Linked DNA regions of Homo sapiens: region 2 is linked to region 1. The links are contacts of gene promoters, found by promoter capture Hi-C in blood cells and fetal thymus (Javierre and others, 2016). All regions are on one chromosome and are shown on one strand. The core of a region is centred on a gene start or on the middle of the fragment in contact, and the rest is flanking DNA. Distances in the headings are between cores, read along the strand shown.

Region 1 (7,034 bases), core at 3,804-6,303:
AATAATAGACTGGATAAAGAAAATGTGGCACATATACACCATGGAATACTAAGCAGCCATAAAAAAGGATGAGTTCATGTCCTTTGCAGGGACATGGATGAAGCTGGAAACCATCATTCTCAACAAAATATCACAAGGACAGAAAGCTAAACACTGTGTTCTCACTCATAAGTCGGAGTTGAACAATGAGAACACATGGACACAGGGAGGGGAACATCACACACTGGGGCCTGTTAGGGTGTAGGGGGCTGGGGGAGGGATAGCGTTAGGAGAAATACCTAATGTAAATGACAAGTTGATGGGCACAGCAAACCAATATGGCACATGTATACCGATGTAACAAACCTGCATGTTGTGCACATGTACCCTAGAACTTAAAGTATATATACGTATATATATACGTATATATATATATAAAGAAATAAAGGTACCATTTAGCCTCATGACATCACATACCAAGAGAAAAAAAAATCCATGTGTTACACCTGCCTATTCATCTCTTGTTATTTCACAGCAATTTGTCCTCAGGTGGAAGTAGAGGGTGTTGACCCCTGATGTGCGATAATTGATACAAATGTGTTTTTATTATGTAGACACGTAAAATGCATGTCAAATGCTTCTGCAATTATTTGATTCCCAAAATACAGCTTATTTGTATGCTTCCTAGACCTTCAATTACAGGCAGTGTAACTGACCCAGGGCCCCAGCTGCTGAACTCTGAAATAACATGTTTGCTTTGAGGCAAACATGCTTCCTGCTTCCCAGGGGCTGCTCCCAGCCAAAGACTGAGCACAGTGGGGACACTGAGGCATGCCCACTTTGGCTTTGGGGATTTACCTAATGATCTTGCTGAAACTTTATTAGACTGCACTGGTGGTCAAGAATGCGTTCATTCAATTTTCCTTCCTTCTCTTCTTCACATGGAGTCAGCCTTACCTGGCCACCTTCCCCTTTTCCCTTACAAACATTTCTCCTAACGATTTCCTTGCATACTTACCTCTGTCTTGGTATCTGTTCTTCAGAGTATCTGGACTAACACAAACTGATTAAAAGTACAGCTTTGTGAGGCACAGAACCATATGTTTGGTATCTTGCATGTTGGGTCAGTAGGAGGAACATAAGATAGAGGTTATGTTCCTCTATCTTATGGGGATACTGATAGAGGCATAATAATGGGGTAGCTGATAGAGGCATCAAGAACTCTCAACAGTGGTATCCTGTGTGGGGTTTTGGTAAGAACTTGTGAATCAAGAAAAGAACTGAGAGTGAAACTTTTCCTTAGGCACCTTTACATTAAAAGACAAAATTTCCCAACAAGTAAATGTATAATGATTTGAAAATGTAAAATCAAATATTTGGATTTAAAAAGCGTATGAATTTGAGAACAAAGAAAGTATAGGGTTTGGAGACAGCCAGATCTGAGTTTAAGCCCCAGATAATCTTTGCGATCTTGGGAAAATTACTGTGTTACTGGATTTTTTTTTTTTTCTTTTGGAACAGGATCTCACTCTGTCATTTAGGCCAGAGTGCAGTGGTGCAATCACAGCTCACTACAGCCTCGACTTCCTGGGCTCAGGTGATTCTCCCACCTCAGCCTCCCAAGTACCACCACACCCAGCTGATTTTTTGTATTTGTTTTGTAGAGACAGGGTTTTGCCATGTTATCCAGACTGGTCTCCATCTCCTGAGCTCAAAGGAGCTGCTCACTTCAGCCACTCTACAGTGCTGGGATTACAAGAGTGAGCCATGAAACCTGGCGTTGTTATTGAATCTTGATTCCAGTGATTTGCATTCCTCCTTGAATGTGAAGTATATAACCTCATTTACTGGCTCCCTGCAGGAGGCATCCTACTTGATTGACATTGGTCTTGACCAGGGGACTTGCTGGGGCCAGGGGACTGTGTGGCTGAGACACAGGTGAGTCTGAACAGAAGCTCTTAAGAGCCAGTGCACAAGGTGGTTAACTGCATTCTTTTCCCTCTGCCACAAGAAGCACAAGACCAAGTAGGGGCTGCTTCTATGGCCTGGATTCTGGAATAAAGTTGCAGAGCCGCAATTGGCTGGTAGCTGCCATCACTGACAGCCAACATAAGCAAAATAAACTTTCATGGTTGAAAACCACTGAAGTTATTCTCCAAAGTTTTGATGTTGAAACATTTCAGAATAAAGTTGAAGGAGTAGTTCAACTAAAATCCTCACTTAGATTCTCTAATTGTTAACATTTTGCCACATTTGCTAAATTTGTCTTGTTCCCTCCCTCAATATTAGAGCTCCCTGTTTTTGCTGAAACATTTGGGAGTTTGTTATAGGCATAGTGATATTTGGTTCCTAAATATTTTAATATATATATCTTAAGAATAAGGATTATTTCCTATATGACCATGACACTATTATTGTATCCAAGAAGTATAACATTGATATAATATTATTTAGTATACAGTTCAAGTTTCTCTGTCACAATAACATTCTTTGTAAATTTTTTTTCCTGATCCAAAACCTAGCGAGGATCATGCATTGATAATAACTGTATATTTCTTTAGTCTCCTTTAATTTAGGACAGTTTATTAACTATTTGGGGGTTCATCTTTCATAAAACTTACATTTTTGAAGAGTTTAGGTCAGTTGTTTTGTAGAATATATCACTTTTTGGATATACCTGATTTCCTCATAATTCTTTAGATTCAGGTTAAATATTTATGTTAGGAATACTCCATAGATAATATTGTTTATATCACAACCAAGAAGCACAAATAATGTCAGATTGTCTCATTTTGGGTGATGATAAGTTTGACCACTTGATGATGATATCCACCAGATTTCTCCATTGAAAAGTTTCACTTATCCATTTGTATTTTGTCAGTAATATGTGAGGTGATACTTAGAGACTATGTGACTATATCCCTGATCCTCAACAAACTTTCTCTACTGATTTTAGCATCTATTGACGATCCCTTCCTGTACCAATGGTTACATTGGTAGATGCAGAATGGTGATTTTCCCTATTCTATTATTCCTATGACTTTTATTATCTGGCATTCTTTTGTACAGAAAACTCTCTTCACTCTTTCTACACTGATTTATTCTTGAGTGTCATTACGGATTCATGAATTTTTAATATACATGTCATAATATTTCAGCATTATTCTTTTTGTTATGCAAACTCTCCCAAATTTGGACAGCGGGAGGACCTTCGAGCTTGGTCCGCCGTCCTTTTTAACATGTTTCTGTTTGTCTGTATTTTATAGTTAGTTGTAGGCTTTCTGGCACAGTAATGATCCAGGCTTATCTTAGATATTTACTGTTACAGACTTGATACTTTTTATTTGGCAGAGACATTGACAGAGTGAGACTAAGATTTGGGGAGCTGGTTGATAAAGAAGGCAAGATAAAGAAGATTCAGAGTAAGAAAATATTTGGGGGGAATTCTTGGCCAAAGATTTACCTCGGGTATGTCTCTCAAGCTCTTAAAACCTGAATTTCTTTTCCTGGAATATGAAGATTATTATGCCAATTGCTCAGGTAGGTTGTGAAAATTAATAAACCAAGCCCTATGATTGGCACATAGTATTTTTTGGCCATTATCACTAGTGACAACCTTTCAACTAGGTTAATTTCTCATACCGGTGAACTCCAATTACCTGCCTCCAATGGGTTTGTGATCAAACTTGCTTAAGTTTATGTTCAGAGGCTTTGCTTAAATGTGGCTCTAAGATGTTCTAAGGGCACTAGAGTGTTTCTAGGTAAGGTTAAATGGGTACAGGCTCTAAAAGGCCGATGAAACAGACAGCTTTCATGGGAACTGTATGCAAATTTGAGGAAGCAAAAGATACACCCGCCCTCCAACACTATATGTATATATGTACATTTCGTGGTTTGAATTAGGATCTTAAATGAAATGTAGCCTGGTAAAATGTAGACTGGATGTAAATCCAAGCTCCGTCACTTACATTTCCCATTTTAAAAAGTGAAGATACTTACACTTTCCTGGCGCAGTGGTTGTGAGTGTAACATTTGGGCCAAGGAGACGGTCGATCTATCGTGGCGCAGGGTCATATTTGTACCTTAGGCGGCACTTCCACCTGGTGGCGGCGCATTCCAATTGCAAGGCAAAGGACAGAGTGGGGGAAAGGCTGAATTCGACACCCTTAAGTAAAGCCACAGAATTAAACTACTGTAAATGAAAATATTTCCATCCTGTACCTACAGAGTGCTTACTTCAAATAACACTCACGTCCTGGTAGGACAGAAAAATTAGACAATGAGCTGAAGTTTGCCTGCAAGGGCATTCATTCATTCATTCATTCAAGAAACATCTGTTGAGCGCTGACTGCGCTGTGCTCTGTTCTGGGCGCTTGGGATACATCAGTGAACTAGAGACAAAAATTCTGCCCCGGGATGCCTTCTCCTATACATCCTATACTATATAAACTAAACTAGAAAATTTGTAAAGAGCTCTTAGGAATTACAACGTCCTCTCCAAAGTCAAGGGGACGTGTTCCGAGGCCTCTATTACCACAGCTAAGGGGAGAACCGGGGTGCAGACCCACTCCAGCCGAACTAAGAACCTACCCGGCACAATTGAAAGTTAAGCCACGCGCTAGAGGATGTCATCGCTGACAAAATAGAAGACGCCTTCCCCATTCCCCCCCACCCCCGCCCCCGCCAAGAAAACCATATATTCTTTTAGGGAAGCAAGCGCTTCACCTGGGTGGCCGGGATCGAACCCGCGGAGGGCTGAAGGCGGAGGGCAACGACGCCTGTGGAACTCTGTTTCCCTGCAGAGCCTACGTGGTGGGCGGCAGGCCGACCGCCCTGGGGGCCCTGCACCTCTGGGTAGGTGACCGCGCCCAGGTATCGAGCACAGGTAACGCGCCCCGGCTCCGAGTCTCGGGGTCTCAGCCACTGAATCCCCAGCGAGGCCTGACGCCCCCCGGTGGAGGCGAGCAGTCTGAGTGCTGGGTCCGGAACAGACCTGTCCTGCGGAACTCCGAGTGCGCGTTCGGTTTCCGGGGGAGGAGGGCGGAGAAGGACTTGCGCGCGACGGTTCTCACCGCTGCTATGGAGGCGCTGGCCATGGGTTCCCGGGCGCTGCGGCTCTGGCTGGTCGCACCCGGTGGCGGGATCAAATGGAGTGAGTTTCAGAGGCCGTAGGGACAGGGAGCGAGGCCTAGATAGTGGTGTCTGTCTAGATTGGGTCTGAGGCGGGGCCGGGGAGGTCCCGCGGGGCAGAGGAAGGAGGAGGGTTTCTTAGTCCCTCCGCGGCGGTCGCTCTTGCACAGCTTGGGAGGACTAATTTATGGGAACGAGGGTCTGGCGGAGGGCAGGGGCAAGGGCAGGGGTCGGGGCCAGGGGTCGGAGCCAGGCCGCGGGAGGAGCTTGGGCCCGCCTCTGGGAAGCAGCGCACGTTCCGTGCACATCTGTCCATGTCTTCCCAAGGAATACTCGTACTTGCCTTGGCAGGTTCCCTGATTTGGCCTTTGGGATATAAACTCAGCATTTCTCATTCTGGATATTGATAGTTTCGGTGTGGGACCTTTGGTTTCCTGAAATTTTCTTGTTTTTCTTCAGACCCTGTCAAACCGACCACTTTGTTCACCTTCCCAATGACTCTAGTCCAGTTTTGACTCCGTTTCCTGGTTACTTTTTGCCCCTTATTGTAAAGCACTGATTGGAAACACGACACAGGAAATTGGTGGGAAATAGCGATCTGATGTGAAAGAGCCAAATTTAAAAGTAGAGGCACGTATCTGGGCCAGCTCTGTTTCTTCCGCTGGTGTTTGTTAATATTACAAATTGGTTTAATTTTACCTCTGAGCGCACTTTTGGCAGTACGTTAATCATTTTTTCAGTCTTCATATTTATTGTAACTTCTCCACAGGATTTATAGCAACATCGTCAGCTTCTCAGCTGTCACCGACAGAATTGACAGAAATGCGGAATGATCTCTTTAATAAAGAGAAAGCCAGGCAGTTATCATTAACTCCCCGAACTGAGAAGATAGAAGTTAAGCATGTTGGGAAAACTGACCCCGGTACTGTCTTCGTGATGAATAAAAACATTTCAACTCCCTACAGTTGTGCCATGCGTAAGTAGCAGAATCAGGTTACAGTTTTGACCCTTTTACTTAAGCTGTGTGGAAGCACTGGTGCAGGAGACAGGATGCTGTAATTACTTCTGGTCATCTGTGGCCATGGCAATCCCTTTATACCAAAATCCTTTCTTGAGACCTGCATGGTGACTGCTCCCACCACATCACAGACCTAGCTAAAAAGAGCAAGCAAATCCCAGCTACTTGGGAGGCTGAAGCAGGAGGATAGCTTGAGGCCAGAAGTTCAAGACCAGCCTGGGCACCATAGCCACCCTGTCTCTCAAAAAATAAAAATAGAAATAAATTAGCCAGATGTGGTGGGCGCAGAAGTCCCTGGACTTCCCAGAGGTTCTTTATCTGGCACCTTATTGTCTATTCACTGTCCCTGTAGTTCTGGAGGGTACTCTGAGTATTGCAAGGTTGGCACTGTAGTGCACAGATTGTCCTGCCTGGCGCTTGTTTGAATCTGGCTTTGTTTATGGTACTAGATAATTTTCTGGCAGAAGGTGACCAGACCTGAGTGCATTGTTACTAGTGTGCTTTCTCCTTTAATTTAATTTAATTTTAGAGATGAGGGTCTGGCCCTGCTCCCAGGCTGGAGTGTAGTGGTACTATCATAGCTCACTGAAACTCCTAGCCTCAGCCTACGAAGTAGCTGGGACTACAGGTGCCCACCATCACACCTGGCTAATTTATTTTTATTTTTGAGAGAGAGGGTGGCTGTGGTGCCCAGGCTGGTCTTGAACTTCTGACCTCAAGCTCTCCTCCTGCTTCAGCCTCCCAAGTAGCTGGAATTTGCTTGCTCCTTTTAGCTAGGGCTGTGATGTGGTGGGAGGAGTCACCGTGCAGGTCTCAAGAAAGGATTTTGGTGTAAAGGGATTGCCATGGCCTCAGATGATCAGCTTTTTTTTGCCGCCTTTTTCTTTCTCCCCTCTTCATTGTATAG
Region 2 (7,532 bases), core at 506-3,005, 110 kb before region 1:
GGCACTCCAGCCTGGGTGACAGAGCGAGACTGCATTTCAAAAAAAAAAAAAAAAACCATAAGCAACTTTAGGACTCCAACTATAGCTCTTGGTAAATCTCTATTTTTATACCATCTTTAAGAAACTTTATAAATAGCACACTTGAAGTTGAAAATAAAGGATCATGAAATGGAGCTTTGAAACAGCCTGCTTTCAATCTCAAAGAAGGTAAACAGGTCCTTTGTTGACACACACTTAACTTGTTTTGAGAGCATTTTCTTGGTGGAAAGTAAAAAGACATTTTACACTCCAGTTTGTCTTAATTAGTACATTTTTTCAAACCTGGTCAAGTAAAAACTTAGCATATATTGAAAAGTAAACAAATATTGAAAGTATCACAAATGAAAGCTTTTAGTTTACCTTGAATTTCTTAACCAACTGTTAACACTAAAAGTGTTCCAAAAAGAGAAAACAAAAGATGAAAAATTAAATTTTAAAATTTGAAAGTTGGAAAAATATTTGAAGAGCTTCTTAAGAACTGTGTGGAAATTCATGTCTAATTGCTAAAAGACTGGTATGAGAAAAATAGTTTCCATCCAGCCTTCATTCATGGAACAACTTTGTAACTTCACATATTAGATAACTATTATAATTACATATTTCAGAATACAATCATTTATTAATATTTGAACTAAATTTATGGGGAAATTTTATAGTTAAATACTAAATTTGCTCTTTGACAAGTGTTCCTTTGATTTTTAAAAATTCATTTATCACATTAAATACCAACCACGTTAGATGCTGTTAAATTCTTTGGGTCTTATAAAGTTGTGTAAAACATGGTTCTTTTCTCAAAATGCTTCCAGATTGGTAGGGGTGTCAAACATGTTCATTCCTATTATGGGGTAGAAACCAGTAAGTGAATCAAGGGTTACGGAAATTCAGAGAAGAAAGAGTTTCCAGCAGGGGAAATGAGAGAAGGCTGTCCTAGAGGGGGTGGAATTTGACCTGTCTCTTAATAAGTAGATAGAATATACAAGTCTTGTGGTTAGGAGAATTAACATTCCAGGTGGATAGGGTGTTATAGGTAAGTGTATAGAGGAGGGGGAAATGGGTTAAGATAAAATGACCATAGCTCAGTTTAATGGGTACATGAGGCAACCGAAGAAGTTAGTAGAACATATAGCTGAATACGTAGGCTGTGGCAATATGATGGGATATGTCTGTGATGGGTGGGAAACCTTGAATTCCAGGCTGAGGAGTTTAGATTTTGTGATAGACTAGGTAAAGGAAGAGTGAAAGGGTTTAGCCAGGGGAAAGGAGAAGGGAGTTGACATGGTTCGAGAGAAATGGGGCAAATTGATGGATGGGGTGGGGGGAAGAAGAGATTAGAGGGAAAAGGAGCCTTTGGAACTGGAGAGATTGACGTTGTGACTGAGAGGGTACTGGAGGGTGGAAGTTCCCGGAGATAAACGTTGAGATGCTATTGAAAGCCTGAGATAAAAGGATGAAAGTAGTGACTGAAGAATCAAATAAGACAATGAATGATGTAGTCAGTGAATAAATGGGAGGCTAAAGATGGAGAGATTTAGAGATAGGAGGGGGCAGTGGTGGTGATAGGATTTAAATGCATTCATCCTGGTTAGCCTCAATATTTTTCAAAATAATATTAGAGATTTGGGCATCTTCGGAGAATGAGAGGAGAGTGGAAGAGAATGAAATGGCCCACTGTGATATTTAGACTGGGTTAGGGGAAAGGCATGACAAAAAGGTATTTTGTCTGGCAGTGAGACCAGGAAGGCGATGAGGGGCCAGAGATAACTGGGGGTGAAAGGAAAGTGTGACAGAGAAGCGCACAAGAATTTAAAAGGACTGGGCTCGGCTGGGCACAGTGGCTCACGCCTGTAATCCCAGCACTTTGGGAGGCCGAGGTGGGCAGATCACAAGGTCAAGAGATCGAGACCATCCTAGCCAACTTGGTGAAACCCCATCTCTACTAAAACCACAAAAATTAGCTAAGCATGGTGGAGCGCGCCTATAGTCCCAGCTACTCGGGAGGCTGAGGCAGGAGAATTGCTTGAACCCTTGAGGTTGCAATGAGCTGAGATCGCGCCACTGCACTCCAGCCTGACGACAGAGCGAGACTCCGTCTCAAAAAATAAATAAATACATAAAATTTAAAAATAAATAGATAAATAAAAGGACCGGGCTTAGGCCTATAGTAATGCCAGCAGTTTCGGAGGCCGAAGAGGGAGGAGCGCTTGAGTCAAGGAGTTTGAGACCAGCCTGGCGACGTGGCAAGACCCCCCTTCTACAAAAATATAATAAATAATTAACTGGGCATGGCACACACCTGTGGTGTCACCTATTTGGGAGGCTGAGCTGGGGGAATCACTTGAGCCTGGAAAGTCAAAGCTGCAGTAAGCCGTGATCGCGGCACTGAACTCCAGCCTGGGTGACAGAGCAAAACCCCATCTCAACAATAACAGCAAAGAATTTAAAAGGAAGTCAGCCTGGGGGTAGAGAAAAACATGGTGTGTGAAACATCCTGGATCAGACTGATCTGGGTCCCCACAGACCCTGATTCCTCACTCCTCAGCTCCATGAACTTGACAAGTCAGTAACTCTTGTTTCCTCATCTGCAAAATGATGACATTACCCACTTTATAGTATCGCTGAGATGAATGAGATTTTCTACATCCTCACCCCCATCCATCCCCACCTCTGACATATATAAAGTGTTCAATAAATAGTTGTTGCTTTTTATTTTCAGAGCATTTTTCTCAGCATTTGAGAAGTTGGCAGCCATCCAGAGATGATGACATTCTAATCTTAAGCAGCTAACCAGCAGCTAGCCTTGTAGCTACAGAAGGTAAGAGGGTGTAGTTTCCTGGGTTTTATGAATAACAATAGGTGGATGACTCTTTCCCTGCACTGTTATATGGGGCTAAAAAGTTTAACAAGTTCAGCTATTTTTATTAGTGTAGACTTTAATCGAACAAAGCCACCTGTGGAAAAAGGAAGTTCTTTGCAAAGTTGTATTGAAAAGCAATCAATTGGTCCAGACTTAGGTCAAACCTCCAACTAAAAATAAATTAAATCTAGTTACAACAGCAACAATAATTAAAACAAAACAAAGCTTGCTAATAAGATTTTAAAGCCCTAATCTTTACACAACACAATTCACTGCAGGAAAATAAAGTCAAAATGCTGTAAGAATTACAATGGGATTTTACCAGTTGTTAGTGTTCAAGTTCCTCAAGTAAACACAAATGCAAATACAAGTCTGGACACCAGTGACCCACAGATACATATATATACTTTTAATAGGAAATTAGTGCTCAATACTCTGCCCTTTGTGTGGGGGAAAACATTCTTTTATACAAGGATTTTTACCTAGCTATTACAATAGTTTAAGGTAATGTACAATATATATTTGACACAGAGAGTGTTATTAGATGTTCGCACTGCATAAAATGAATCCTCTAGCCTTTGATGTCTTAAAAAGAAGTTTTACAACTATTAGTGAAGCTAAGGCACTACATATTTTCCTTCCACAATATGGATTTGTGTCATTTAAACTGAAGAAGTTGATCTTGTGTGATGACAGGTATGTCTGAAGAGGCGTCTTTCAGAGTCATCTATCCTCTTGGCATGCCAATGCAAGAGGAAAGCATTCCTCAAACCAAAGAAATCTTCCAACCAAAACATAGGTAACATTTAGCCTGATTTCTTACAAAAGCTTGTAGACAGGTGTTTTTTTCTGTACTTCACCACCATGAGTTGGGAATCTATGCCTGTGGGCCAAATCTTGTCTGTGCCTGCTGTTTTTGTAAATAAAGTCTTATTGGAACACAGACATGACTACTTGCTTGTTTTGTCTGTGGCTGCCTTTGTGCTACAATGGCAGAGTCAAGTAGTTGTTAACAGGGACCTTATGACTTAAAATATCTACTTTCTGGCTCTTTACAGAAAATGTTTGCCGATCCCTGACTCGTGGTGAAAATTTTATTTTGGGGGCAGAGCCATGTTACAGAAGCCCGACCTCCAGGAAGGGATCTGGTGAGAGACATAGCATGTCATAGACAAGTCAAAGGGGGAGCATCTTCCCGGTGGCCTGGTGTCCAGGCACATGCTAGGCACTCAGTGGGTGCTTAATCCATTTGTTCGGTGAATCCTGGGGATTTGCTTCGCCAATTGGGTAGAAAGAGCAGACTCTTTTGAAAGAAGATTAACCTGCCCAGTGCAGTGGCTCATGCCTATAATCCCAGCACTTTGGGAGGCTGATGGGGGTGGATCATTTGAGGTCAGAGGTTTGAGACCAGCCTGGCCAACATGGTGAAACCCTTCTCTACTAAAATACAAAAATTAGCCAGGTGTGGTGGTACACGCCTATAATCTCAGCTACTTGGGAGGCTGAGGCAGGAGAAGTGCTTGAATCTGGGAGGCGGAGGGGAGGCGGAGGTTGCAGTGAGCCAAGATTGTGCCACTGTACTCCAGCCTGGGCGACAGAGTGAGACTCCGTCTCAAAAAAAAAAAAAAAAAAAGAAAGAAGATTAACCATCATGTTCATAGTTGTCAAAGGTAGCAAGTGACCTTTTCATCCACATTTGCCCAGAAGAATAGGACATGCCCTAGCCATATTTTGTTTTTAATATCAATTCAGTAATTAAAAGAAGTTACAAATGATATGAATTTTTAACATAGTCTAATTGCTCTGGTAAACGGATCATTGGAATTTTCACATTGTAATAGTAGCTGGAAGCTTTTGTGGTTCATCGGTTGAGAAACCCACATTAGATCCACTTTTCGTTTGAGCCATTGCTCATGTGCCCACTGTGTTTCAAGAGGGGTACCAGATGCAGGGAGTCATACTGAGCTTTTTCGTCTCATTTTCCTGGTAGACTATTACTTCTTCCCTCCACATCCCTCCTTGTCCAAAAGCAGAATTGTCAACCCCTGACTAAGGGACTTGGCCCGGAATGTCACTGCACAATTTTTAGAGACAGAAAGATGTGAAGTCACCACTCCTGCAGGGAAAGGTATCTGCAAACTTGTGTAGGCTCCAGTGGTGAGTTCTGATGTCAAAGTCACTGATCCTCTTCAAAGAAATCTTACAAGAAGGAAGCAGTGGCAAGCAGCAGTAGGGGTGAAATAAGCCACTTGGGTTTGTGTTTGACCATCTAAATTACGTTTAATGAAGAAATCAGTGACACACACCAGGCAAATCCTGTGGTGCACACCTGTGGGCTCCAGCCATTAGGCATTTCTTTTGATGTTGCTTTTAGTTCCCAGGAATGGAAGTAAACACAAAGTGCAAATCCTTGGGCATAAGACCCATCCCGCTTCCTCCTTTCTGTGGGTGTGTTAGTGATGAACGAGCATCAGAATAAGGATGATATTAGGGGAGAAAAGAGGATTCTGGCAGAAATGAGACCAGAGGTTCCTTTTGCATCTGTCAGAGTATTTGTTGGACCCCCTAAATCAGACTCTCGTGCAGAGTCTGATTTATATTTTCATGACCTGTGGATTGACTTCACAATCAGTATGTTATATTTTAGTAACGTTCTCTAGAAGTTAGGACGTGGTTAACATTTCCCAAAGCCCAGGACATTACAAAGTATTTTAATTCTTTTAACTTAGTCCAGACACAAGAAGCCAGATTATATTTTAGGTGTCGACAGAACTATTTGTTTAAAATAGCAAGTTCAGGTGAGTTAGTAGTCATGAAAATTAAAATGAAATACCAATTCCATTTCCTCGTGTACCTCTTTGCAAATGTCGGACAAAGCAGAGTTTTATAATAGTTTAATAACTTGTGTAACAACGGTGGCTTTGGTGTATCTCTAAAGTGGAGTCTTTAAATTATAAAGGATTTTGTGTGCTTGAAATCCTAGGAAAAGAAAGAAAAAACAGGTTTAAATATATGAATTCATATTTAAAGAAACATAAATCTTATGAATATCAAGCTATATTTATTGTAAGAATTCTACAGGTAAAAACCAGTATTTATTTATTTATTTATTTTATTTTTTGAGATGGAATCTTGCTCTGTTACCCAGGCTGGACTGCAGTGGCGTGATCTCAGCTCACTGCAACCTCCGCCTCCCGGGTTCAAGTGATTCTCCTGTCTCCCAAGCAGCTGGAACTGCAGGCACATGCCACCATGCCCAGCTAATTTTTGTATTTTAGTAGAGATGGGGTTTCACCATATTGGCCAGACTGGTCTAGAACTCCTGACCTCGTGATCCGCCCGCCGCGGCCTTCCAAAGTGCTGGGATTACAGGCGTGAGCCACTGCACCTGGCCAAAACCAGTATATATTTAATTAAACTTGTTTTATGGGGAATTAACTAACTAACTCCTAGCAGACAAGGTACTCTGAAGCTTTGCCTAGAGAGTAAAGAGGTAGGACTGGAAGGCAGAGGCAGACAAATCCTGTTAGGAGGATGCCCCGGCATCTGGTGTTGGAGGCCAGGCCTGTGGCTACACATCCTATGATGTACAGGACAGCACCTTACACCAAAGAATGATGTGGCCCAAAATATCAGTAGTGCTGAGGTTGAGAAACCCTGTGGTAGGGCACAAGAGAACTGAAGGGGACTCTAGCTGTTAGTTGATAAGGGCAACTGAGAGGAAGGCAAAGAAAAAATAAATGGCTTTTGTTCATTCAGTTTAGCCACAATGTGCTTCATACTGTTTGGAGGGATGGGAGTATTCGATTCCACACTCCAAGAGTACTTTCTGTAAATTGCAGAAACAAAGACTTTCCATAAATTGTAGGCACAAAAATGGTGGGAACAAAGTTTCTTGTCCCCTAATTAAACATCAGTAAGCTTTCAGTGTAGTAAACCACAAAATAAGGTGAATTCTGTAATAGTTTCTGGAACAGTTTTTGAAAATCAAATTTTTACAGAAAAGTGGGTAAGCATTTAAAATACTGATGTCCAGGCTCCCCCGCCCCACCCCACCCCCCAGACTCTACTGAGAAGAAATCTGACAGAATTCCTGCCATAGATGAGTAAAGCATTTCTGAGAACCCATGCTTTGTTTCTCAAGAAACGACTTAGGCCTCTAAAACCATAGGAACTCCCCCTGCCCCAACCCACTATATTCCTGAGAAAATCATCCAGAAGGCTGAATATCCATCCAAAGAGCTACAAAATCTGAGTAACAATGGTATTTGCTGCATCAATGTAGTGTTTACAAAGGGTCCAAGTGTCTAAATTATGTTCCTTAAAACCTCTGAGTTAGGTAATTACTGCGTCTTTTCAAACATTTCTGAAATGTTCCTTTCAATTATAACAGGATATTCTGTGCTCTGGTCTGAATGTTTGTGTCACCCAAAATTCATATGTTGAAACCTAATCCCTAATGCAATACTATTAAGAGGTGGGGCCTTTAGGAGGTGATTAGGTGATGAGGGCAGGACCTTCATGAATGGAGCTAGTGCCCGTACCAAAGAGGCCAGAGGGTGCTTGTTTTGCCCCTGCTACTATGTGAGGACACAGCAGGAAGTCTCCATCTATGAGGAACAGGCTCTCACTAGACATT

Evidence for each region. Contacts are between HindIII fragments. The CHiCAGO score rates a contact against its expected background, and 5 or more counts as called.
Region 2: a contact is called between a fragment that was not itself captured here and the fragment with the promoter of MRPL39 in region 1, in 6 of 17 cell types (activated CD4 T cells, naive CD4 T cells, non-activated CD4 T cells and 3 more). The highest score is 7.3, in activated CD4 T cells.

The regions. Positions count from the first base shown.
Region 1 is chr21:25,605,500-25,612,533 of GRCh38, reverse strand. MRPL39 (mitochondrial ribosomal protein L39) reads left to right here and starts at 5,053. Exons shown (of 10, transcript NM_017446.4): 1 at 5,053-5,131; 2 at 5,879-6,085. The coding sequence starts at 5,059. RefSeq lists a silencer at 3,949-4,008 and an enhancer at 4,989-5,108. The HindIII fragment of the contact is 17,691 bases long and covers 1-7,034 here.
Region 2 is chr21:25,712,980-25,720,511 of GRCh38, reverse strand. It overlaps JAM2 (junctional adhesion molecule 2), which reads right to left. Exons shown (of 10, transcript NM_021219.4): 10 at 2,950-5,872. The coding sequence ends at 5,840. It overlaps LOC124905002 (a long non-coding RNA gene), which reads left to right and starts at 11. Exons shown (of 2, transcript XR_007067827.1): 1 at 11-2,851. The HindIII fragment of the contact is 2,731 bases long and covers 390-3,120 here.